Regions from separate parts of the Homo sapiens genome. Here regions 1, 2, 3, 5, 6 and 7 are each linked to region 4. Evidence: promoter capture Hi-C in 16 types of primary human blood cells and fetal thymus (Javierre and others, 2016). All regions are on one chromosome and are shown on one strand. Each heading gives the region's core, a stretch centred on a gene start or on the middle of the fragment in contact. The rest is flanking DNA. Distances are from core to core; before and after follow the strand shown.

The links. The method cuts DNA at HindIII sites, captures the fragments that hold promoters and counts their contacts. A CHiCAGO score of 5 or more calls a contact.
Region 1: a fragment that was not itself captured here is called in contact with the fragment with the promoter of ACTR6 in region 4 in 3 of 17 cell types (naive CD8 T cells, total CD4 T cells and naive CD4 T cells); the score reaches 9.1 in naive CD8 T cells.
Region 2: a fragment that was not itself captured here is called in contact with the fragment with the promoter of ACTR6 in region 4 in 2 of 17 cell types (naive CD8 T cells and activated CD4 T cells); the score reaches 6.5 in naive CD8 T cells.
Region 3: a contact is called between a fragment that was not itself captured here and the fragment with the promoter of ACTR6 in region 4, in 2 of 17 cell types (total CD4 T cells and naive CD4 T cells). The highest score is 7.4, in total CD4 T cells.
Region 5: a contact is called between a fragment that was not itself captured here and the fragment with the promoter of ACTR6 in region 4, in 1 of 17 cell types (naive CD8 T cells). The highest score is 6.0, in naive CD8 T cells.
Region 6: a fragment that was not itself captured here is called in contact with the fragment with the promoter of ACTR6 in region 4 in 1 of 17 cell types (total B cells); the score reaches 5.9 in total B cells.
Region 7: a contact is called between the fragment with the promoter of CHPT1 here and the fragment with the promoter of ACTR6 in region 4, in 1 of 17 cell types (neutrophils). The highest score is 6.7, in neutrophils.

Annotation. Positions count from the first base shown.
Region 1 is chr12:101,380,726-101,384,040 of GRCh38, forward strand. UTP20 (UTP20 small subunit processome component) reads left to right here. Exons shown (of 62, transcript NM_014503.3): 58 at 415-486; 59 at 2,316-2,588; 60 at 2,818-2,944. Among named protein-coding and RNA genes, the nearest start is that of ARL1, 25 kb to the right of the region's middle. The HindIII fragment of the contact is 1,570 bases long and covers 847-2,416 here.
Region 2 is chr12:101,400,711-101,403,704 of GRCh38, forward strand. ARL1 (ARF like GTPase 1) reads right to left here. Exons shown (of 6, transcript NM_001177.6): 3 at 2,155-2,236; 4 at 352-463. Among named protein-coding and RNA genes, the nearest start is that of ARL1, 5.6 kb to the right of the region's middle. The HindIII fragment of the contact is 9,104 bases long and covers 1-2,994 here.
Region 3 is chr12:101,342,509-101,345,471 of GRCh38, forward strand. UTP20 (UTP20 small subunit processome component) reads left to right here. Exons shown (of 62, transcript NM_014503.3): 33 at 1-81; 34 at 279-329; 35 at 433-585; 36 at 2,087-2,242. Among named protein-coding and RNA genes, the nearest start is that of ARL1, 64 kb to the right of the region's middle. The HindIII fragment of the contact is 3,290 bases long and covers 1-2,963 here.
Region 4 is chr12:100,199,508-100,202,416 of GRCh38, forward strand. ACTR6 (actin related protein 6) reads left to right here and starts at 1,308. Exons shown (of 11, transcript NM_022496.5): 1 at 1,308-1,412. The coding sequence starts at 1,345. RefSeq lists a silencer at 252-611 and enhancers at 1,104-1,398, 1,372-1,571, 2,416-2,909. The HindIII fragment of the contact is 11,223 bases long and covers 1-2,889 here.
Region 5 is chr12:98,521,054-98,524,271 of GRCh38, forward strand. The region is part of intron 1 of TMPO (thymopoietin); the gene reads left to right. Among named protein-coding and RNA genes, the nearest start is that of TMPO-AS1, 6.4 kb to the left of the region's middle. The HindIII fragment of the contact is 1,552 bases long and covers 494-2,045 here.
Region 6 is chr12:98,634,713-98,637,991 of GRCh38, forward strand. All of the region lies in intron 1 of IKBIP (IKBKB interacting protein), which reads right to left. Among named protein-coding and RNA genes, the nearest start is that of IKBIP, 8.4 kb to the right of the region's middle. RefSeq lists a silencer at 1,502-1,561 and an enhancer at 2,589-2,758. The HindIII fragment of the contact is 496 bases long and covers 1,483-1,978 here.
Region 7 is chr12:101,696,225-101,699,293 of GRCh38, forward strand. CHPT1 (choline phosphotransferase 1) reads left to right here and starts at 1,416. Exons shown (of 9, transcript NM_020244.3): 1 at 1,416-1,910. The coding sequence starts at 1,638. RefSeq lists an enhancer at 890-1,139 and silencers at 1,360-1,699, 1,960-2,149. The HindIII fragment of the contact is 18,657 bases long and covers 1-3,069 here.

The DNA.
Region 1 (3,315 bases), core at 382-2,881, 1.2 Mb after region 4:
TGGTGGTAGGTGCCTGTAATCCCAGCTACTTGGGAGGCTAAGGCAGGAGAATTGCTTGACCCCAGGAAGCAGAGGTTGCAGTGAGCCGAGATCACTCCAGTGCAGTCCAGCCCGGGCCACAGAGTGAGACTCTGTCTTAAAAAAAAAAAAAAAAAAAAAAATGTAGAGTATTATTACCTGTTTCTCCCCAAAATGTGAAAGTATCCCATTTATTTGGGATGAAATGCTTAGGGCAGGTAGAAGGGAGCAGTACACCACTTCTGGTCATGAACCTTTCCTCTCCAAATCTATACAGGTGGTCATTCAGAGCAAAATCCAGTACGTTAGTTGTATTACAGTTATTATGTTTAGCTTTTTAAAAACAATCAGAAATGTCCTGTGTTTTGTCTACCAATGTCCATTTTCTTTTCACAGATGAAAAGTATCTCTCTCGCCTCTTGCCATCAATTGCATTCCAAATTCTTGGATCAGTCTCTAGGAGAACAGGTAAGAATTGTAGTTCTCCCAGTTTAAAAGAAGGGGCCGGCTGGGCATGGTGGCTCGCGCCTGTAATCCCAGCACTTTGAGAGGCCGAGGCGGCCAGATCACCCCGAGGTCAGGAGTTCGAGATGAGCCTGGCCAACATGGCGAAACCCCATCTCTACTAAAAATACAAAAAAATTAGCAGGGCATGGTTGCGGGTGCCTGTAATCCGAGCTACTTGGGAGGCTGAGGCAGGGAGAATTGCTTGAACGTGGGAGGCGGAGGATGCAGTAAGCCGAAATCACGCCACTGCACTCCATCCTAGGTGACAGAGCGAGACTCCGTCTCAGAAATAAAGAAGGGGCCTATTCTATCAACAGTCTAAGCTTACATTTGTTATTTTGTTTTGTTTTGAACCTATCTTAATGCTTGGGGGATTAGATGAAATACAGACATACACTCAAATATATGTTCAAATACACATATGTCTTGTCAACACTGGGTCTGTATTGGGATTACTCTTTGCTCCATTTAAAATTCCCAATAAGGGTCTGGGTGCGGTGACTCACGCCTATAATCCCAGCACTTTGGGAGGCCGAGGCAGGTGCATCACTTGAGGCCAGGAGTTCAAGACCATCTTGGCCAATATGGTGAAACTTCATCTCTACTAAAAAGACAAAAATTAGCTGGGCATGGTGGCGCATGCCTGTAGTCCCAGCTACACAGGAGGCTGAGGCAAGAGACTCACTTGAACTGGGGAGGCAGAGGTTGCACTAAGCCAAAATCACCACACTGCACTCCAGCCTGGGCAACAGAGCTAGACTCTGTATCAAAAAAAAAAAAAAAAAAGAGAGAGAAATAGTTATTTCTATGTAGAATGGCGGAAGGAATTTAATGGAGGTAGAGATGAAAGCTGTTGTTAAAAATGTAAAATGGGGCTGGTGTGGTGACTCTCACCTGTAACATCAGCACTTCAGGAGGCCGAGATGAGCAGATCTCTCGAGGCCAGGAGTTCAAGACCAGCCTGGCCAACATGGCGAAACCCTGTCTCTACTAAAAATACAAAAATTAGCTGAGCACGGTAGCCTGTAGTCCCAGTTGCTGGGGTGGCTGAGGCATAAGAATTGCTTGAACCCAGAGGCAGAGGTTTCACTGAGCCGAGATCGCACCACTGCACTCCAGCCTGGGTAACAAAGTGAGACTCTGTCTCAAAAAATACCCAAAAAACAAAACAAAACAAAACAAAAAATGTAAATGGAGGGCCTAGAAGGAAATTGTTTCCTTATTCTGTGTGACTTTAAAGGGTAGAACTAGTCCAGATAGATCAAAGTTACATGGAAATGGGTTTGGATGCCCTATGAGGAAGAACTTAAGAATGATCTAGGCCAGGCACGGTGGCTCACACCTGTAATCGCATCACTTTGGGAAGCTGAAGCAGGCAGATCACCTGAGGTCAGGAGTTTGAGACCAGCCTGGCCAACATGGCGAAACCCCGTCTCTACTAAAAGTATAAAAATTAGCCAGGCATGGTGGTGCACGCCTGTAATCCCAGCTTCTCAGGAGGCTGAGGCATGAGAATCATTTAAACCTGGGAGGGGGATGTCACAGTGAGCCGAGATTGCACCACTGCCCTCAGCCTGGGTAACAGAGTGAGGCTCTGTCTTTAAAAAAAAAAAAAAAAGGAATATCTAAAAATGGAGCCTTCATCATTTAATAGTTGTTAAATAGTTGTAATACCTAGTTTGTTTTTGTTTTCTAATTGTAGAATACCTATTTTAGCTTATGCTCTACTAAGCCTTATTTATTTCAAAATCAATGTCCAATTTCTTCCCCCACCCCGTTTTTTTTTAAAGGTTGTTAAGAATTTGTTGTTCGCAGCCAAAGTCTTGTATTTACTGGAACTTTATTGTGAGGATAAGCAAAGTAAGATAAAAGAAGACCTGGAAGAACAAGAAGCTTTAGAAGATGGTGTGGCCTGTGCAGATGAGAAGGCGGAGTCTGACGGAGAAGAGAAGGAAGAGGTGAAGGAAGAGCTCGGCAGGCCGGCCACGCTGCTGTGGTTGATCCAGAAGCTGTCCCGGATTGCAAAACTGGAAGCTGCTTATTCGCCGAGAAACCCCTTAAAGGTGCGATGAATGCACAGAATGACTGACAGTAGTCATTTCTCTTTAAAAAGTATTTTAATGATATTAGTGATCCTCCTAAGTCCCTAGAAACTTTATCTTTGAACCCCAAACTGCAGCAATAACATCCGTCCCAAAATAGACTGAGCCCTGTTTTCTCAATTAATGCTGTGTCTATGATTGAGTGCTAAAGAGAAGTCTTTCAAATGAAAAAAATGATCTGTACTTTCAGAGAACATGCATCTTTAAGTTCCTCGGCGCCGTAGCAATGGATCTTGGGATAGACAAGGTAAAGCCGTATCTCCCAATGATCATAGCTCCTTTGTTTCGGGAACTCAACAGCACCTATTCAGAGCAAGGTAACCCTGCCTCGTCTGTTCTCCTGCCTTTTGCACATGAGGATTTCTAACTTCTCTCCTGAATGTTTCCTTCTTCCTTTCTGTCCTCCCTCCCTGCCTGAGATTTATTTTTATTTATATATATATTTTAATTATATATTATATACTTATATATGTTTATATTTATATATATACACACACACACACACACATACATTTAAAAAAGAGAGAGAGATGAATAGTGGTCTATGTTATGCCAGGCTGGTCTTGGTCTCAAACTCCTGGCTTCAAGCAGTCTTCCAACCTCAGCCTCCCAAAGTGTTGAGACTATAGAAGTGAGCTACTGTACCCAGCCAGAGTTTATTTTTAAAAAGAAAACTTATATCAAGATA
Region 2 (2,994 bases), core at 34-2,533, 1.2 Mb after region 4:
CATATTTCTCTGAACTTGAATCCTTCTAAAACAGCTAAAAATAAAAAGACATATTTTAAAAGTCACATCAAAGAAGTGACTTAGAATAGATGCTTTTGTTTAAGTGAGCTCTTCTGAACCTCCTGGAAAATCAAGCAATCTGGCTTGAAGAGGAAGTTACGAGGTTAATTTTTGTTGTTGTTTTGTCTCCAACCCTCCTCAACTGTATTTTTGGAATAGAAAATCATTTCCATAAAAGAAAATAATTTTAAAAGGATGGAGGGAACAACCCCTGCATTCTTTTTAATTATTCTTCAATGTAATAATATGTAAATGACTGCCCCACATTTTAAAGTGGTTACGTTTTCTTACCTCCAACATGGCAACTAACTCTGATTTGGAAATGCCAATTCGGTCTCGGTCACAACTGTCTACTACATAAATGACTGCATCTGTGTTTGAATAGTAACATCTCCAGTATGGCCTAGAGAAAATTTAAAAGGGGAGAACATATTGTTATTGTTTTAAGGAAGAAACTGACATATCAATTGCCAATTCTGTCCCACACATGTTAGAATCAATGCCTTAATGATTCACTGTTTCTGGTGGATATATGTACCATATCCCTCAGATGTGATGGAGTCAAAAGAATGTTGATAAACATTGGCTGGGCACGGTGGCTCACATCTGTAATCCCAGCATTTTAGGAGGCTGAGGAGGGCAGATCAACTGAGGTCGGGAGTTCGAGACCAGCCTGACCAACATGGAGAAACCCCATCTCTACTAAAAATACAAAATTAGCTGGACATGGTGGCAGGTGCCTGTAATCCCAGCTACTCGGGAGGCTGAGGCAGGAAAATCACTTCAACCAGGAAGGCAGAGGTTCCAGTGAGCTGAGATGGTGCCATTGCACTCCAGCCTGGGCAACAAGAGTGAAACTCTGTCTCAAAAAAAAAAAAAAAAAAAAAAAAAAGAATGTTGATAAACATTGACTCACAGGACCAGGGAGTTTCCAAATGAATTCATTCAGACTTCAGGCTGACAAAATTTATTTATAATCTATGAAATCACTAAATATACTGATAGAAAAGTTGTACACAGACCTGATCATTACATCTTCTTAAACAAATCTTTAACTAGGCACCCCTTAAGAGGAATAAACTTTTTAAACGTGATTTTATTTAACAGTCATGAAATTAATCACTGACATCAAGCAGTAGAAATGGCTAAAATTATAAATAAACTCAAAAGTGATTCAATGGAGTCTCTCTGAGCCTACTCTGGCTTGGGAGGCTGCACAATTTAAAAAAAAAGAAACGTGATTCAAGAAATGAGTTAAAAGAAGTCAGAATGTTTGGAGAATGCATTACTAATCTTTTAAGATGGTACTATCGTGACCAACTACTGACGGTCATCAAACATTCACTGTTGCCATGTCAAGCCCAAAATGCTAAGCAGAAGACCTGAACTTCAGAAGGCATTTATTTTTTATTTATTCATTTATTTTTTTTGAGACAGAGTCTTGCTCTGTAGCCCAGGCTGGAGTGCAGTTGCGCGATCTCAGCTCACTGCAACCTCCAGCTCCCAAGTCCTGGTACAAGCAATTCTCCTGCCTCAGCCTCCCAGGTAGCTGGAATTATAGGCACGCACCACCATGCCCAGCTAATTTTTGTATTTTTAGTAGAGACGAGGTTTCACCATGTTGGTCAGGCTGGTCTCCAACTCCTGACCTGATGATCCGCCCACCTCGGCCTCCCAAAGTGCTGGGATTACAGGCGTGAGCTACCATGCCCGGCCAATGGCATTTATTTTTATATTAGCCCTAAATGGTATGCCTGCAAGGTACTTTAATGAATTCCAAAACAATGTGTTTCAGAGAGGAGAGACTGACAAGAACTAAATGGAGGGTCCTTTCTAATTGAGAATAGCTGAAGTAATAAGGTCTTGAGATTTTCGTGAAAAGATTTTCATTAAACAGGTATCTGGAAAACTGGGCTTCCTTAAGTTTTAACTCAATGGATGCTCTAAGGAAATAGTTCCCAATTTTACCTCATTTTAAACTAGGTGGCTCCATTTAAATTACAATAGAACACATATTCGGGTTTACTGATTTTAACCCTTAAAAGAATCAATAAATGTCAAATACTACCAAATAACCTGGTCTTTGTACCATACCTGATACTTGTCTGTCCTCCTAAATCCCAGACTTGGAATTTAAGGTTTTTGTACGTCACCGTCTCTACATTAAATCCAATGGCTGGAAGAGAAATCAAATCAGTGGTATGTGTAGACTAATACATTCCACCTTCAAAATATCCTATCTAATTGAGTTACAGCAATTAATGGTAACTGTTATTAGAGTTTAAAATATATATATATATAATTTGTCTTAGGATTCGAGTTAAAAAGAAATGGTAATTGTTGAATCACATTATTGGTTGAGATTTTATACCATTTAAGACGAAATAGTATGCTCTGCTCCCCCACACATGTGCAGGTGTGTGCACAAAACATCAATTAGCAAGATCAATACCATCTTCAGGATATTTTTTAAAAGCCAGCAGTTCTGCAAATAAAGTATATAATTTTAGCTCAAATAAATTAAAAAAAGAATTTAAAAAAGAAATAAAAAGGAAAACATAATTTTTAGCTCAATGGAAATCCTATTATATTAAACTCCCCTCATAATAGAGTAGTTAAAAGTGTTCGAAAGCTGTATTTAGAAAGTACAGTTGTGGATGTACTATAAAAAGCAGAATTTTGGCTGGCAGCAAATAAACAGACCAAAAGAAAAAAAGCTAAACTTCAGTTCTAAACTACAGCATGGACACAGCCATGGCTGCAGCTTTCAATCTCACAGCCCATCTGCAGACATCCTCCAGAACTCACTTGTAATAAGGTCATGGCTGGGTGGTCAAAGGGCAGGTGTCCCATCCCTTTTCTCTGCCATCCTTCTTAGGTGAAAAATAGGTAAAAAATAACTTCCATGGCTGGGTGCGGTGGCTCACACCTGTA
Region 3 (2,963 bases), core at 396-2,895, 1.1 Mb after region 4:
AGCTTCCTCAAGCCTATAGCAAAACTTTTCTCAGTTATTAAGAACAAATTGTCAAGAAAATTGCTTTGTACGGTTTTTGAGGTCTGTACTATTCATTTTTACTCCAAATCACCCTTTTAAAAAAATGTAATTATGACTTGTAAACCATATTAGGGGCTTTCTTCATGCCAGGGTGATGTTTTTATATGAATTTGAATGGGGACAGGTAGCTGAGGGGAGGAGGGCAGAAAAGTTAAAGTTTTATTCACTGATAAATACACTGTTTTCTTTCCTTTCAGACTCTTTCTGATTTTGAGAGTGGGTTAAAATATATTACTGATGTTGTCAAGGTAAGAAAGAAGGGTTTCTCTTTGGCTTCAAAAGTATTATCATTTTTGTTTACTGAAGATTTATATGCCTTCTTTTATATAACTTCAATGGCATTTCTTATAGCTTAACGCCTTCGATCAAAGACATCTTGATGATATCAACTTCGACGTTCGCTTTGAGACTTTCCAGACCATCACCTCTTACATTAAAGAAATGCAAATTGTGGATGTTAACTACCTAATTCCAGTTATGCATAATTGTTTCTATAATCTAGAGGTAGGTTATTATAGCAAAATTTTTAAATTATTTTTTATTGTTTTGGTAATACGGCTGCCTAATACAGTGACCTGATCTTTAAATTTGTTTTTTGAGGGGGGACAAAGGTTTTTAGGATTAAATTTCTTTTAGATGAAGAATCTTATGTCTGGCAAAACAGTTATTCTCATGATTTAAAAGGCAAATATTGTGAATAAAATAATACATATGAAAGCATTTTGAAAAAAATCAAGAAGTTATGTATTAGAATAGGGAAATCCATAGAGATGAAGTACATTAGGTCACTAAAGGCTGCAGAAAGGGAGGAATGGGGCGTGATTTCTAATGGGTATAGGGTTTCTTTTGGGAGTGATGAAAATGTTCTGGAATTAGTGGTGATGATCACACAACCTCGTGAATATACTTAAAACCACTGAATTGTAAATTTTTTTTTTGGAGACAGGATCTCGTTCTGTCACCCAGGCTAGAGTGCAGTGATGTGATCTTGGTTCACTGCAGCCTCTGCTGCCAGGTTCAACCAATTCTCCCACCTCAGCCTCCCGAATAGTAGCTGGGATTACAGGGGCACGCCACCACACCCACCTAATTTTTGCATTTTATTAGAGACGAGGTTTCACCATGTTGGCCAGGCTAGTCTCGAACTTCTGACCTCAGGCGATCCGCCCATCTTGGCCTCCCAAAGTGCTGGGATTATAGGTGTGGGCCACCGCACCCAGCCAAATAGTAAGTTTTTTAAAAGGGTGAATTTTATGGTGTGTCAATTATGTCAATTTTTAAACATGCAACTATACTAATTGAAAATTATCCCTTTTTTATTGAAGTTATAAGAGAATTAAAAAGTGTTTGGAATATATTAAGTGCTATGTTGCTGAACTAAATTAAAATCCAAAAATGCAGAAAATGAAACCTTTGATTATTGTTAATCATGTAGTGGCATCAGTGATCTCTTTGTGGCATTTTATAGTTATTCATCTAATATTAAGGATTACGTAATATATGAAAAAATAATCTCCCTGTTTTATACTCATTCTTCATAATCATGCCAAAATTCAGCACAAAAAATTCTAAGTCGCTGCCTGGCTGGCTGAGTCAAGGATACCTTCCCTACACTCACTTTGACATTCTTCAAACCACAAACTCTGGAGCAGCCAATTCTGTCATTTTCAGTAATGACCGGATACTGAATATTGAAAACTGGCTTTAGTGAACCTTTTAGACTGCCTGCTTTGGGAAGTAAAACTAATTAACAAGGACATTTCATAGTGCTGCCTGAAATTAAATGACACTTCTTGGGAAGCGTGGTTTTTCAGCCTTTTACAGTATTATATTCCTCACAGAACATTTGGTTCTCCCTTAGGTTTGAAATATTTGTGGGAACTTGTTTAGTAGGCATTTTTACAAGCACAGTGACAGAATTTTGTAGATGCTTGCACTGGGAAGTAATATTCCATATTGTAGTTATTACAGAGAATAATTTCTTTTTTATTTCTCTTTTTTGCAGTTAGGAGATATGAGTTTAAGTGATAATGCCAGCATGTGCCTGATGAGTATCATCAAAAAGCTAGCTGCCTTGAATGTCACAGAGAAAGACTATAGAGAAATCATCCACCGTTCACTCCTGGAGAAATTGAGAAAAGGTCTGAAGAGCCAGACAGAGGTATATAACTTTGTGTTTTAGGCACTACTGTCTGAGGCTGTGTTTTGTTTTGTTTTCCCACGTTTGCTACTGTTGTATAGAAAAGTAGTCAGGCTTAGTGCATTTAATGAGAATACTTGGTTGAGTAAATAGTCACCAGACTTTTAATGGGAGTGGGTCTAGAAAGGAGAGCACTTTTTTTTGCTTTTTTTTTTTTTTTTTTTTTTTTTTTTTGAGACGGAGTCTCGCTCTGTTGCCCAGGCTGGACTACAGTGGCGTGATCTTGGCTCACTGCAACCTCCGCCTCCCGGGTTCAAGTGATTCTCCTGCCTCAGCCTCCAGAGTAGCCGGGATTACAGGCACATGCCACCACGCCCAGCTAATTTTTGTATTTTTAGTAGAGACGGGGTTTCACCATGTTGGCCAAGCTGGTCCCGAACTCCTGACCTCAAGTGATCCACCTGCCTTGGCCTCCCAAATTGCTGGGATTACAGGTATGAGCACCATGCCTGGCCACCAGTCACTTTGGATCTAATATAGCTGTCAGGTTTTTTTTGTTTTTTGTTTTTGAGACAGGGGCTCACTTTGTTGCCTAGGCTGGAGTACACCACCACACCTGGCTGATTTTTGTATTTTTTGTAGAGACAGGATTTCACCATGTTGTCCAGGCTGTCCTCAAACTCCTGGGCTCAAGCAATCCTGACTTTTTTTTTTAACAGTGGAAATATTTTACTTTTTAAAA
Region 4 (2,909 bases), core at 58-2,557:
GCGAGTTCCCACCTCAAGCACCGTGGCGGCTCCCGCGCTGCGCACCTGGAAGTGCGCAGGCTGCTCCGCCGCCTCGTCGGCGCGCTGGTAGCTGAAGCAGGCTTCTGCTATGTCCAGGTGGCCGAGGGGCAGCGGGTCGTGGGGGTTCTTGAAGTAGCAGAGGCAGCAGCGGCGCCCGTCCAACACGAACCGACGGCTGCGGTAGCCACGCAGTCGCGCTGGTTCCCGCGCGGTACCCGCCCCGGGCTCTGCAGCCTCCCCATCGCCGTCGCTGCCCTCCTCTGCCCGGGTTCCGGCCCCGGTATGGCTGCCTGCGCGCCAACCGTTTGTTCCCCGGCCCCCGCGCCTTCGCGCTGCGGCTGCTGCGCTCCCTGCCCCCGCGGTGCCCCCTTCCCGCCGCCCCGCTCCTCTCTCAGGCGCTCAAAGTGGCCTGGAATTTGTAGAACGCCCCCCTCCAAGCCCGTTGGCAGTTGTCCTAGCCCGCTGGCCCTTGCCCCCGCCCGCTGGCCGTTGCCCCCGCGACGCCCCGGAAGCCAGGTCCTGCCTCCCGCACCTGCCAAGTCCCCGCCCTGCCGGAGTCTCGCTCTGTCGCCCAGGCTGGAGTGTAGTGGAGCCATCTCGGCTCACTGCAACCTCCGCCTCCCCGGTTCAAGCAATTCTCCCGCCTCAGCCTCCCGAGTACTTGGGATTACAGGCGCCCGCCACCTCGCCCGGCTACTTTTTGTATTTTTAATAGAGACGGGGTTTCGCCGTGTTGGTCAGGCTGGTCTCAAGCTCCTGACCTCAAGTGATCTGCTTGCCTTGGTCTCCTAAAGTGCTGGGATTACAGGCGTGAGCCACCGCGTCCGGCCCAAAAGCCTTTTTTGGATGAGAAAGACTCACTCAGCTTCGTCCTGAAGAGCAAGTGGGCTGGGGAAGAGGAGAGTATGAATGTGAGTCCAAGAGCAAGTTTTGCACTTTTTTCTTCAAAGAATGTCACCGTCTGAAGAATGCGATTGGAAGACACACACACACACACACACACACACACACACGCAGCCGGTTCTCTACAGGATTAGAAAAAACTTGCGCGAATTAATCTGCGTAGTTAAAAACAAATACGAAATGAGCGAGAAAGCACATAGTAGTCAAATCTCGCCACCACATAAACAGGTTAAGTTTGGAAGCACAGCCCCTAACATTCGGTGCTGCTTAGCATCTCCGACTTCCGGCGTCCTCCGTTGCTAAGGTGACCAGAGGCGCGTCCTAACGCTCCGCCCAACAAACCATAGAGTACCGGAAAAAGCTCGAGCAGAGGGGTCGGAAAGGGAAAACAACTACGGCTGCGGTGTGGTTGGTGGTGAGATGACGACCTTAGTGCTGGATAATGGAGCTTACAACGCCAAAATCGGTTACAGCCATGAAAATGTGTCGTAAGTACTTTCTTTCTCCGAGGGACAAGATATATACGCCTAGTGGTTTCATGTGCTACGTTTCATCTCCGGACATCAATGAACTGCAGACACCCCCGCGCGGCCCTGACTTAGCCAGAGGGATTCCCTGGTTGGAGCTGGGTGGGTGATTGTGATGCTTTGAATTGAAATTGATTTTGGTTTTAGTTTTGGGCTGCGAGGCCCCGGAAGTGGGATATATGTTTTATTTCGTAACAGGAAATAGCCAAAGAAAATAGGCTTATAGAGATGCGTTCCTGACAGAAGGGTCCGTAAAGTTCATCAGCCTTTGGAAACTATGGGCACGGTGTTTGGGTGTATGCGGATTTTCCTGGGTACAAGATTATAGGTTTCATTAGATTCTCAAAGGGTTCTATGACCCTCCAAAAGTCTAAAAATCACGGTCTTAGGATCTAGAGGCTTTGAAGACTTTGGCCTACTGGCCGACCTAGTTGGTAAGGTCAATTAAACAGAAGTACTGTTAATACAATGGCATTCATAACATGTATAGTCATAAAATATATGTTTGAATAAATAAGCAAACCTAAAGACACGCCTTTCCTTTATCAAATTAACAGAGCATTAAAAAAAATTCTTTCCTTCCTCCCTCCTTTCCTTCTTTTTCATTTCTTTTGAAACAGAAATGAAAGAGGGAAATCAAACTGAGTAGGAATGTAAATTGTTACAATCTTTCTGGAAAACGTTTTGGCAATGTGTATCATTATCATTGTCACCGAGGCTGGAGTGCCGTGGTGCGATCTCAGCTCACTGCAGCCTGAATTCAAGTGATTCTCCCGCCTCAGCCTCCAGAGTAGCTGGGATTATAGGCGTGCACCACCACTCCCAGCGAATTTTTTGTATTTTTGTTAGAGACGGGGTTTCATCATGTTGGCCAGGCCGGTCTCGAGCCCCTGGCCTCAAGCAGTCTACCCGCGTTGGCCTCCCAAAGTGCTGGTATTAGGGGCGTGAGCCCTACACCCAGCTGACAAAGCAATTTTTTTTTTTTTTTTTGGAGAGGGAGTCTGGCTCTCTTGTCCAGGCTGGAGTGCAGTGGCACGATCTCGGCTCGCTGCAACCTCTGCCTCCCGGGTTCAAGCCATTCTCATGCCTCAGCCTCCCAAGTAGCTGGGACTACAGTTGCGCACCACCACGCCTGGCTAAGTTTTGTATTTTTAGTAGAGACGGGGGTTTCACCATTTTGGCCATGCTGGTCTGGAATTCCTGACCTCGTGATCTGCCTGCTTCAGCCTCCTAAAGTGCTGGGATTACAGGTGTGAGCCACCGCACCGGGCCATGACACAGCAATTCTGTTATTACCTAGAGAATTAATTAGAAGTGCTTTGTATTATTCATAGTCATCGTATACAGGCAGCCAAAAAATGGGAAGGAAGCTAAATAATCAGGAATAGCATATTGGCTAAATACACCAAAATACAACCTGAGACTGATAACAAATTCAAGCTTCTTAAAATTATGTCT
Region 5 (3,218 bases), core at 20-2,519, 1.7 Mb before region 4:
CTATTTGCATGCATATACCTTCTATTTAATCATGGGTTTATGAGGAATTTTTTTTTTTTTTTTTTTTTTTTTGAGACGGAGTGTCGCTCTGTCACCCAGGCTGGACTGCAGTGGCGTGATCTCCACTCACTGCAAGCTCTGCCTCCTGGGTTCACGCCATTCTCCTGCCTCAGCCTCCCGATTAGCTGGGGCTACGTGGTGGCACCTGCCACCACCCCCGGCTAATTTTTTTGTATTTTTAGTAGAGACGGAGTTTCACTGTGTTAGCCAGGATGGTCTGGATCTCCTGATCTTCTGATCCTCCCGCCTCAGCCTCCCAGAGTGCTGGGATTACAGACGTGAGCCACCGTGCCCAGCCTATGGGGAACATTTTTAATTAAATAAGAAATTGTTTCATTTCAGCTTCTACCATAGTCTCTTGGATTCACTTGGTATAATGTGACAAAACTTTGCATGTTAAAAGTTTTGTTTTTATTTTGTTTTCTTATTTCTAAGCTTTTTATTTTATGTATCTTGCTACCAATATTTTTAGGTGTTGAAACTACCTAGATTGTGGACACAAAAATAAACATTTACAGAGTTGGCAGTCTGCCTTTTTGTTTTAAGAGGCAGAGCCTGAAGGTGTAGCTATTTGGATCTAGTGGAGCATAATATTCTTGAATGATCTGTTCTGGTGAATTATGAGTGTGTGTTTGAGAAGGAGTCTTGCGCTGTCATCCAGGCTGGAGTGCAGTGGCGCGATCTCGGCTCACTGCAACCTCCACCTCCCGGGTTCAAGTGATTCTCCTGCCTCAGCCTCCTGAGGAGCTGGGATTACAAGCGTGCACCACCATGCCCAGCTAATTTTTTTATTTTTAGTAGAGACAGTTTCACCATGTTGGTCAGGCCGGTCTCAAACTCCTTCCTGACTTTGTGATCTGCCCCCCTTAGCCTCCTAAAGTACTGGGATTACAGGCGTGAGCCACCACGCCTGTCTGTGTGTTTGTTTGTTTTTTTAAGAGATAGGGTCTCGCTCTGTCCCTCAGACTGTAGTGCAGTGGTATGATCATAGCTCACTGCAGCCTCAAACTCCTGGGCTCAAGCCTCTGGAATAGCTGGGACTACAGGTGTGTGCCACCATGCCTAGCTGATTTTTAAAATTTTTATAGAGATAGTCTCACTATGTTGACCAGGCTGGTCTTGAATTCCTGGCCTCAAGGGATCCTCCTGCTTAGGCCTCCCAAAGCGTTGGGATTGTAGGTGTGAGCTGCTGCTCCTGGCCAAATTATGAATTCTCAATAGGAAATATTTGAAGACCTGGAAAAGAACATAAAAGCATGCTACCAATAGGAAATGTTAATTAAATCACAAATTTACCACCACTGTATAATAAGGTGTTAAGTTTACAGACTTGTGAATAATAGAGTTATAGATTCAAATTCCAGGTCTGCCACTTATTCATATGACACTGAACAGTGTCTTAATCTAAGATCCTCTATTTTCACCTGAAATAGAGGAATAACCTAATAGCTACTTAATCAGATTGAGGAGTACATGCCATTGCATATGTGAAGTGTCTAGTGCTTAGTAATTAATAGCCATTAAATGATTTCTGAATTTTTGTCTTTAATGTCAGGGCAATATAGTGCAATGTTACTAAAATATAATTTTGGGAAACGAATAAGGTAGATAAGTGAAAGTGACATGTATATCATAGCATGCAGATTTCCTGAGTTAGTGAAGAGCATGCTTGAACCTCAGTTTTCTGAGTTGTCAGATGGGGATATTAGCATTTTATTCCATAGATTTTTAGGACTCTGTAAGTTAATGCAAAGACACTTGGAACACAACTCAGTACGTAATACATAATAAGTGCCCACTAGAATATATTGTTATGGTTCAACATCTTTATACTAGAGGTAGAGATTAAAGGAATTAGAGAAGCTCATCGGTGATATCATAGAGCTGTTGGGTTTTGAAGTTGAAAAATACGTTAGAGATCATCGGGTAGCATAGTAGGTACTATTTTTGAGTGAAACTCTTAAGTGATCTACTTAAAGGAACAAAGCTTTCTGGAGGCAGAATTTAATGCAACTGATGCTTCCTTTTTCCTGACTGAAACTGCTAATCATGTACAGCACACTGTCTCCTAATTTTTTATCCTTATTAAATCTGAGATTTATAAAATGACATCACTTTTCTGGAACTTTTTTCCTGACAGATTAAAAACCACATGTTTGACTGTGTGCAGTGGCTCACACCTGTAATCCCAGCACTTTGGGAGGCCGAGGCAGGTGGATCACCTGAGGTCAGGAATTCGAGACCAGCCTGGCCAACATGGTGAAATCCTGTCTCTTCTAAAAATACAAAAATTAGTTAGTCGGGTATGGTGTTGCGCGCTTGTAATTTCAGCTGCTTGGGAGGCTGAGGCAGGAGAATCTCTTGAACCTGGGAGATGGAGGGCATGCCACTGCACTCTAGCCTGGGCAACAGAGTGAGACTCCATCTCAAAAAAAAAAAAATCACGTTTTTGGTTTTAATTTATCTGACTTACCTTATGTAGATTTGTTGGTCACTTATTTAAGATATCTTTGTTCAGCTGATGTTTTTCATTATGTTTGAAGGAAATATAATTGATTTTCTTTCTTTCTTTTTTTTCTTTAGGCGAAGTCTGGCCTTATCACCCAGGCTGGAGTGCAGTGGCGCAATCTTGGCTCGCTGCAATCTCCGCCTCCCCAATTCAAGTGATTCTCCAGCCTCAGCCTGCCGAGTAGCTAGGACTATAGGCGTGTGCCATCACACCTGGCTAATTTTTGTATTTTTAGTAGAGATGGGGTTTCACCGTGTTGGCCAGGCTGGTCTCAAACTCCTGACCTCAACGGGAGATCCTCCCTCCTCGGCCTCCCAAAGTGCTAGAATTACAGACATGAGCCACTGCCGAGAATTGGTTTTTACTTAGATTTGATAGGCCTGTTATTTCTAATAAGAAATGGATTTTCAAAAATAAATTACTTTTTCCTTCCCCAGATTTGACAAAACATTTATCAGGGGGCTATTCCTGTATCAGTCTTTTTAGAAATGTTTAGATGCTTGGAATAAGAATATGAGGATGATAGTGCGTCTGCTTTCTGTTGCTTGCCTCAATGCTGCATCCAGATCACCTGGGCTACACAATTACAAACAGATTATCTGGCCCAAGGTGAAGAATCAGAAATGGGTAAGACCTTTCCAAATAGAGG
Region 6 (3,279 bases), core at 481-2,980, 1.6 Mb before region 4:
TTTTTTTTTTTTTTTGAGATGGAGTCTCACTCTGTCGCCCAGGCTGGAGTGCAGTGGCGCGATCTAGGCTCACTGCAAGCTCCGCCTCCTGGGTTCACGCTATTCTCCTGCCTCAGCCTCCCGAGTAGCTACGACTACAGGCGCCTGCCACCACGCCTGGCTAATTTTTTGTATTTTTAGTAAAGACGGGGTTTCACTGTGTTAGCCAGGATGCTCTCGATCTCCTGACCTTGTGATCCACCTGCCTTGGCCTCCCAAAGTGCTGGGATTACAGGCGTGAGCCACCACGCCCGGTATTTTTTTTTTTTTTTAGATGGAGTTTTGCTCTTGTTGCCCAGGCTGGAGTGCAATGGCACGATCTCGGTTCACTGCAACCTTTGCCTCCTGGGTTCAAGCGATTCTCCTCCTCAGCCTCCCAAGTAGCTGGGATTAAAGGCACCTGCCACCACGCCCCACCAATTTTTTAATATTTTTAGTAGAGATGGGGTTTCACCATGTTGGCTAGGCTGGTTTTGAACTCCTGACCAGTGATCTGCCCGCCTTGGCCTCCCAAAGTGCTAGGATTACAGGCATGAGCCACTGTGCCCAGCCCCAAGGTGGTCTTGAATTCCTGGCCTCAAGTGATCCTCCCCTCAGCCTCCCAAAGCGCTGGGATTACAAGTGTGGGTCAACATGTCCAGCCTAGATGCAGCTTTTATCAGTTTCTTTTGACAGATTTTCATGTGGTAGGTACTGGTTTAACTCATGCAAAGATGAGTAAAGCACTGCCCTTGTTCACAATTCACAGCCCACCAAATAAGATGGTGTGATATCTGTAATAGATGCATGCACAAGAAATATTTTAGAGGAGGACAAAGTGAAAAATTTAGAACAAGATCTTTGATCTCTACTGTTTTTCACAAGGCCATGATTGGGTAATATCTAGAAAATAGGTGTTTTTATGCTGAAATGTAGGCGAAACAAGAGTCGTCTATAAAAAGTATTTTAAAACTGAAATGTAGAAGAGTTGACTGATAAAAAGCAGTGGAGTAGAAGAGAGAAGTGATAGTAATTAGAAGTTGCAAAATAGCAGGAGGTGTGAAAAGAGGTATGAAAATAGAAAAAAGCCATTGCCAAAGTGACAATAGATCACAATCAGTGCAGAGTGTATAAACTGCACAATTGGTTATACTCAGTGATGTGACTCGTATAGGTGTACTTGAGATGTCACTCTAAAATTGGAGTTTATTCTTCATTATGGGTGGAAGCCCAAAAAGCTATCTCAATCTTCAAAACAACAAATCAACATCTGTTTATACAGGATTTGAAATGAGCAAGCATAAAAGAATTGTCTTGGATCCAATACCATTTTGTCTACTTTAACTCAATTCTTTAGGCTCAGAAAAAAACACTTGAAATTCTTTGCATATTGAGTCATCAAAACGCAATGGAGCAGAACCATAAGTACCTGCCTAAACACAGTCCTGAGACAAGTGGTTCAAAAGCTTTGCTACATATTGTAATAACCTGGCAGCTTTAACAAATCTGATGCCTGGGTCTCACAAAGATTCTGATTTAATTGGCTTGGGATGTGGCTTGGATGTTGGAAACTCAACAGCTTCTCAGGTAATCTAAGTGCACAGCCAAACTTAGAACCATACTGACTGACCATGTTTTGTGAAATTCATTTCCACTGAAAGGCAATCATTTAAAGATCCCAAGGATTAATGGAGAGGTGAAAGACTTTTCTGAGTAAATGCAGTTATCTGAACTTTGTGCATCCTTGCAAAAGTGGTAATGCTTTGAATTCATAAATGGCATCATTAGGCTAACCGTAGCTACAAAACTGTCCAAAGCTAAATTAGACAAATGTTTACAATACTGGAGGAAATACATTTCTTTTGATGATGCTGGCTAATTTCTATTATACGGGATCCCAGGTTACATTATTAGCACAGATTGACTTTTCTCCTGTGTTTAAATTAATAGGAACCTTTAAAGCTTCTGGTTATTAGAAAACACTATTATCCTAATTCTCTGAGATGGAAGGGTGAACATAATTCTTTTTTCATTGGCTGTTTCATTTCTGGCTTTTAGGATTTTTTTTTTTTCCCCCAGAGTATTGGATATCTAAGACCAGCAGATAGAGACCTTATTAAGAAAGAGACCACCCTAAAGAAATAAGAGTTGCCCTCCTCACGCCTTCCTGTCCCTCCCTGCCAGGGGGGAAAAAAAAAAAGTAAAAGAAGAAACACAGTTCATTTCAGGGACTAGTTTTATTATCCAATACTCCACCATAGATCTATACTATAGATTAGCGAGTTTATTCAGAATGAAATCATTATTATAAGAGACTTTCGTATGAAGGTTGATTCATTACAAAAAATACATTAATGAACTTTCTCAGAACTTCTTTTCAAATTCAAGCTTTAAACACAACCTGTGTCATGTTAGTGGAAATATCATCTCTGATAATTAGTAGTTTTTTTTGATTAGCCTCTTACTAAAATAAAAAAAAATTCATCCTTGCTACATGTGAACGGTGCATATAAGAAAAAAGTACAAAGCTGACTCAGCACTAGTGATGAAAAAAATGAAGTGATATGTGCTGTGCTGCGTTAAAATATATTTTATTTTTCCCTTATTTGTGCCAGACACTATTCTAAGTACTTGATAAATATTAATTCATTTAACATTAAAGAAGATGATTGATTTTTCTTTCTTTTTGTTTTTTTTGAGATGGAGTCTCACTCTGTCACCAGGCTGGAGTGCAGTGGCACGATTTTGGCTTACTGCAACCTCTGCCTCCCGAGTTCAAGTGATTCTCTTGCCTCAGCCTCCCGAGTAGCTGGGACTACAGGCGTGTGCCAACACACCCAGCTAATTTTTGTATTTTTAGTAGAGATGGGGTTTCACCATGTTGGCCAGAATGGTCTCGATCTCTTGACCTCATGTTCCGCCTGCCTCAGCCTCCCAAAGTGCTGGGATTACAGGCGTGAGCCACCGCGCCCGGCTTTTTTCTTTCTTTCCTTTTTTTGAGACAGGGTCTCGCTCTGCTGCCTAGGCTGGAGTGCAGTGGCATGATCTTGGCTAACTGCAACCTCCACCTCCCAGGTTCAAGTGATTACAGGCGTGAGCCACCGCACCCAGCCTAGATGACTGATTTTCTAGAAGTCAAGAAAATATGCTGAGAAAGCTGCTTCAGATCTGAAAAACTAAGCTTTCAAACTGGCATCCATGTTAGGGTATAAGGTCCTTTATTTCCTTTTTATGAGTCAGGGGCATATTCTAGTGAGAGCA
Region 7 (3,069 bases), core at 166-2,665, 1.5 Mb after region 4:
AATTAAAAAGTAGTTACTGTCAAGTTCACTGCACATAAACCAGCATTGTTAAAAGTGGATCTCCATCATTCCATTTCCTTTCCTGCATTTGTCAGCATCGTTTTTCACACTAAAGATGAGGAGATCCATATTCCTAAGACATATACGCTTGGTCTGTAGAGACCCTCATTGCTCTAAGGCAGTGGTTGCCAGTTTTTTCCTTAAAGGGCCTAGTAGGACATAGTCCAGGCTTTGCCAGCCATACGGTCTGTCACAACTGAATTCTGCTGCCCTTGTAGCATGAAGGCAGCCAAACAATAGGTAAGGAATAAACATGGCTTTATTCGTGGCACTGAACTTTGAATTTCATATAATTTCACAACACAAAATTGTATTCTTTTGATTTTTTCCAATCATTTAAAAATGTCAAAACCATACTTAGCTGGAGGGCTGTAGGAAAACAGGTGGTGGGCTGGGTCTGGCACACAGGCAGCAGTTCGTGGACCCCTGTGCCAAGTGTTTGACGAAGCCCGTGAGGCAAACTGCACTTGCCGATAGAGGTTGCGCCACACAAGTGTCTTGGAAGCAATTTCTGGCTTGTCCTAGGCCTTAGAAAGTGCGTGCAGATCAGAGCCATGAAGTGAAGAGCAAAGCAAGTGACAGGCCTGTCTCAGGTTGTGCAACAGAACGTGTTTATGACAGATGTCCCCTGTCCAAGTGAGTGCACTGTGAGATAAGGGGCCGGTGACCTACCAATGCGTGTGGCAAGCCAGCCTGTTCCCCCTTGCAGGGGGAGGACACTCCTGCCCTTTATTCCAGGGAAGAGTATGTGTAAAAATATTCACCCTTGTTGGTATCAAATGCGCTGAAGAAAATAGGTATCGGGGTTTCAGCCATTCGGTCTCCTTGTTAGTGTTTCTAAGCCCTGATTTTCAGTTTCAAAACCTTGGTCTCTGAATCCGCAGTGATGGGTCTCTAGAGCGAATACATGGCAGGGCCGCCTTCCTCCGTACAGAAAGGGAGAATTGTGCTTGTGTGTTTTACCAAGCAGGACAGATGGGGCCGTCACCCCCGTGACCCGAGCCCTGCAAAACTGTGTTCTCACACGAAAACCCCCAGGCTCTGCGGGCAGCGTGGTCCTGCAGTGGCTAACACTGGGCGACCGGAGTCGTGTTCCGACCCCTAGGAGAGGAACCGGCTCGGTCGTGGTGCAGCCCGCGAGGAGACGACCTCAGGGCGTAATCCGACGCCGTGGGTTAAGACATCAGACCTCAGGCGCAGTGCAGCCGGCCCCTGGGGAGTCAAGGACCTTGATCGCCGATAACAAGTTGCCGTTGGCGGGCGCCGAGGGTGACCCGCGAGCGCGGCACCCGCCTCCCCGCCCCTAGCAGGACCCCCTCCGCCCCGCCCCCAGCCGGACCCCTCCCCGAGGCCCCGCCCCACCCGCGAGCCGCAGCCGCGGCCCCACAGCTTCTGGGGCTGGGGCCCCGGCAGCCGGGCAGGCCGGCCTGACCTCGACCTCCGCCGTGCGGGCCCGACCGGTGAGTCCAGCCCGGCAGTCGCAGGACCCGGCCGCCAGCCTCTCCCTCCACCTCTCCCTGCCCCCAGCGCCAGGCGCGGGCTGCGCTCGGTGGCGGCGGCGGGGCCCTCAGGCGGCCATGGCGGCAGGCGCCGGGGCCGGGTCCGCGCCGCGCTGGCTGAGGGCGCTGAGCGAGCCGCTGAGCGCGGCGCAGCTGCGGCGACTGGAGGAGCACCGCTACAGCGCGGCGGGCGTCTCGCTGCTCGAGCCGCCGCTGCAGCTCTACTGGACCTGGCTGCTCCAGTGGATCCCGCTCTGGATGGCCCCCAACTCCATCACCCTGCTGGGGCTCGCCGTCAACGTGGTCACCACGCTCGTGCTCATCTCCTACTGTCCCACGGCCACCGAAGAGGTAGGGCTGGCCGATCGCCCGAGCCGGGCCCCAGATGCGCTGCGGGCGGGTCGCTGGAGGCGCCGGGGGAAGGGCGGACCCACGCGCGGCTGAGCCTCTCCCGGGCCCCGGAGGGGCGGACTGGCCACTGCCCCGGGCGGTGTCCGCCCTGGGCCGCCTGGAGACTGTCACGCCACTATCCCAATCCCGTGACCATCCCAAGCCTCCCCTGGGCAGCGGAGGGGCTGTTAAGGTCACTGCCCCAGGTCCTATGTCCGCGCAGATCCTCCCCACGGCCGCGGACGGGCCGGAGGGCGCCTGCCCAGCCGCTATCCCATGCGGCGCCAACCTGTGAGACGGACCCGCGGTCGGGTGCTTTGCACACTGGGGACTGAACACCCCCATCTCCGTCCTGCCTGGCACAGGGACTTGTGCCAAGCCCGAGACGCCCTTTGAATACTTTCGTAACCGTTCGTTTCTGGAAGGTTGAGCTAGTGATCTTGAAATGACCGGTAGCACTGATCAAAGATGAGTTAAGAGGTAACTTCCTCTTTGCTTCATCGACTTTTTCAAGAAAAACAAACTGGAATGTTATCAAGGCAATAATTTTTTTGTCATCACAACCTAGGGATTAAAAAAACCCCAACATTTTATTAGCAATAATTACATTTGACCTTTGTACAAAATAAGGAGTAAATATAGGCTTTGGATAGCTGTTCATCAGAAGCACCCTTTGGGCTGAGTGTGGAGGGATAGGGGGCAGAGTGGAGTTCACTCCCATCTATAGTTTATACTACGTGGGATAAATATTACATTGCACATTCTGTGACATTACTTTCTATTCTCTGCTCCAAATAGTGAAGTCCCTTTATAATCATTTGAGTGTAGGCCTTGTGGAGGACTCATGGAGGTTGAGGTTGGATTAACAGAAATACAGTGGAAATATTTCATGCCCTCCATGCATGCATCCATTTTGTTGTTGTTTTTGAGACAGGGGTTTACTCTGTCACCCAGGCTGGAGTGCCGTGCCGTGGCTCGATCTCGGCTCACTGCAACCTCCGCCTTCAGGGTTCAAGCGATTCTTCTGCCTCAGCCTTCCAAGTAGCTGGGATTACAGGCGCGTGCCACCACGGCCGACTCACTTTTGTGTTTTTAGTAGATACAAGGTTTCACCATGTTG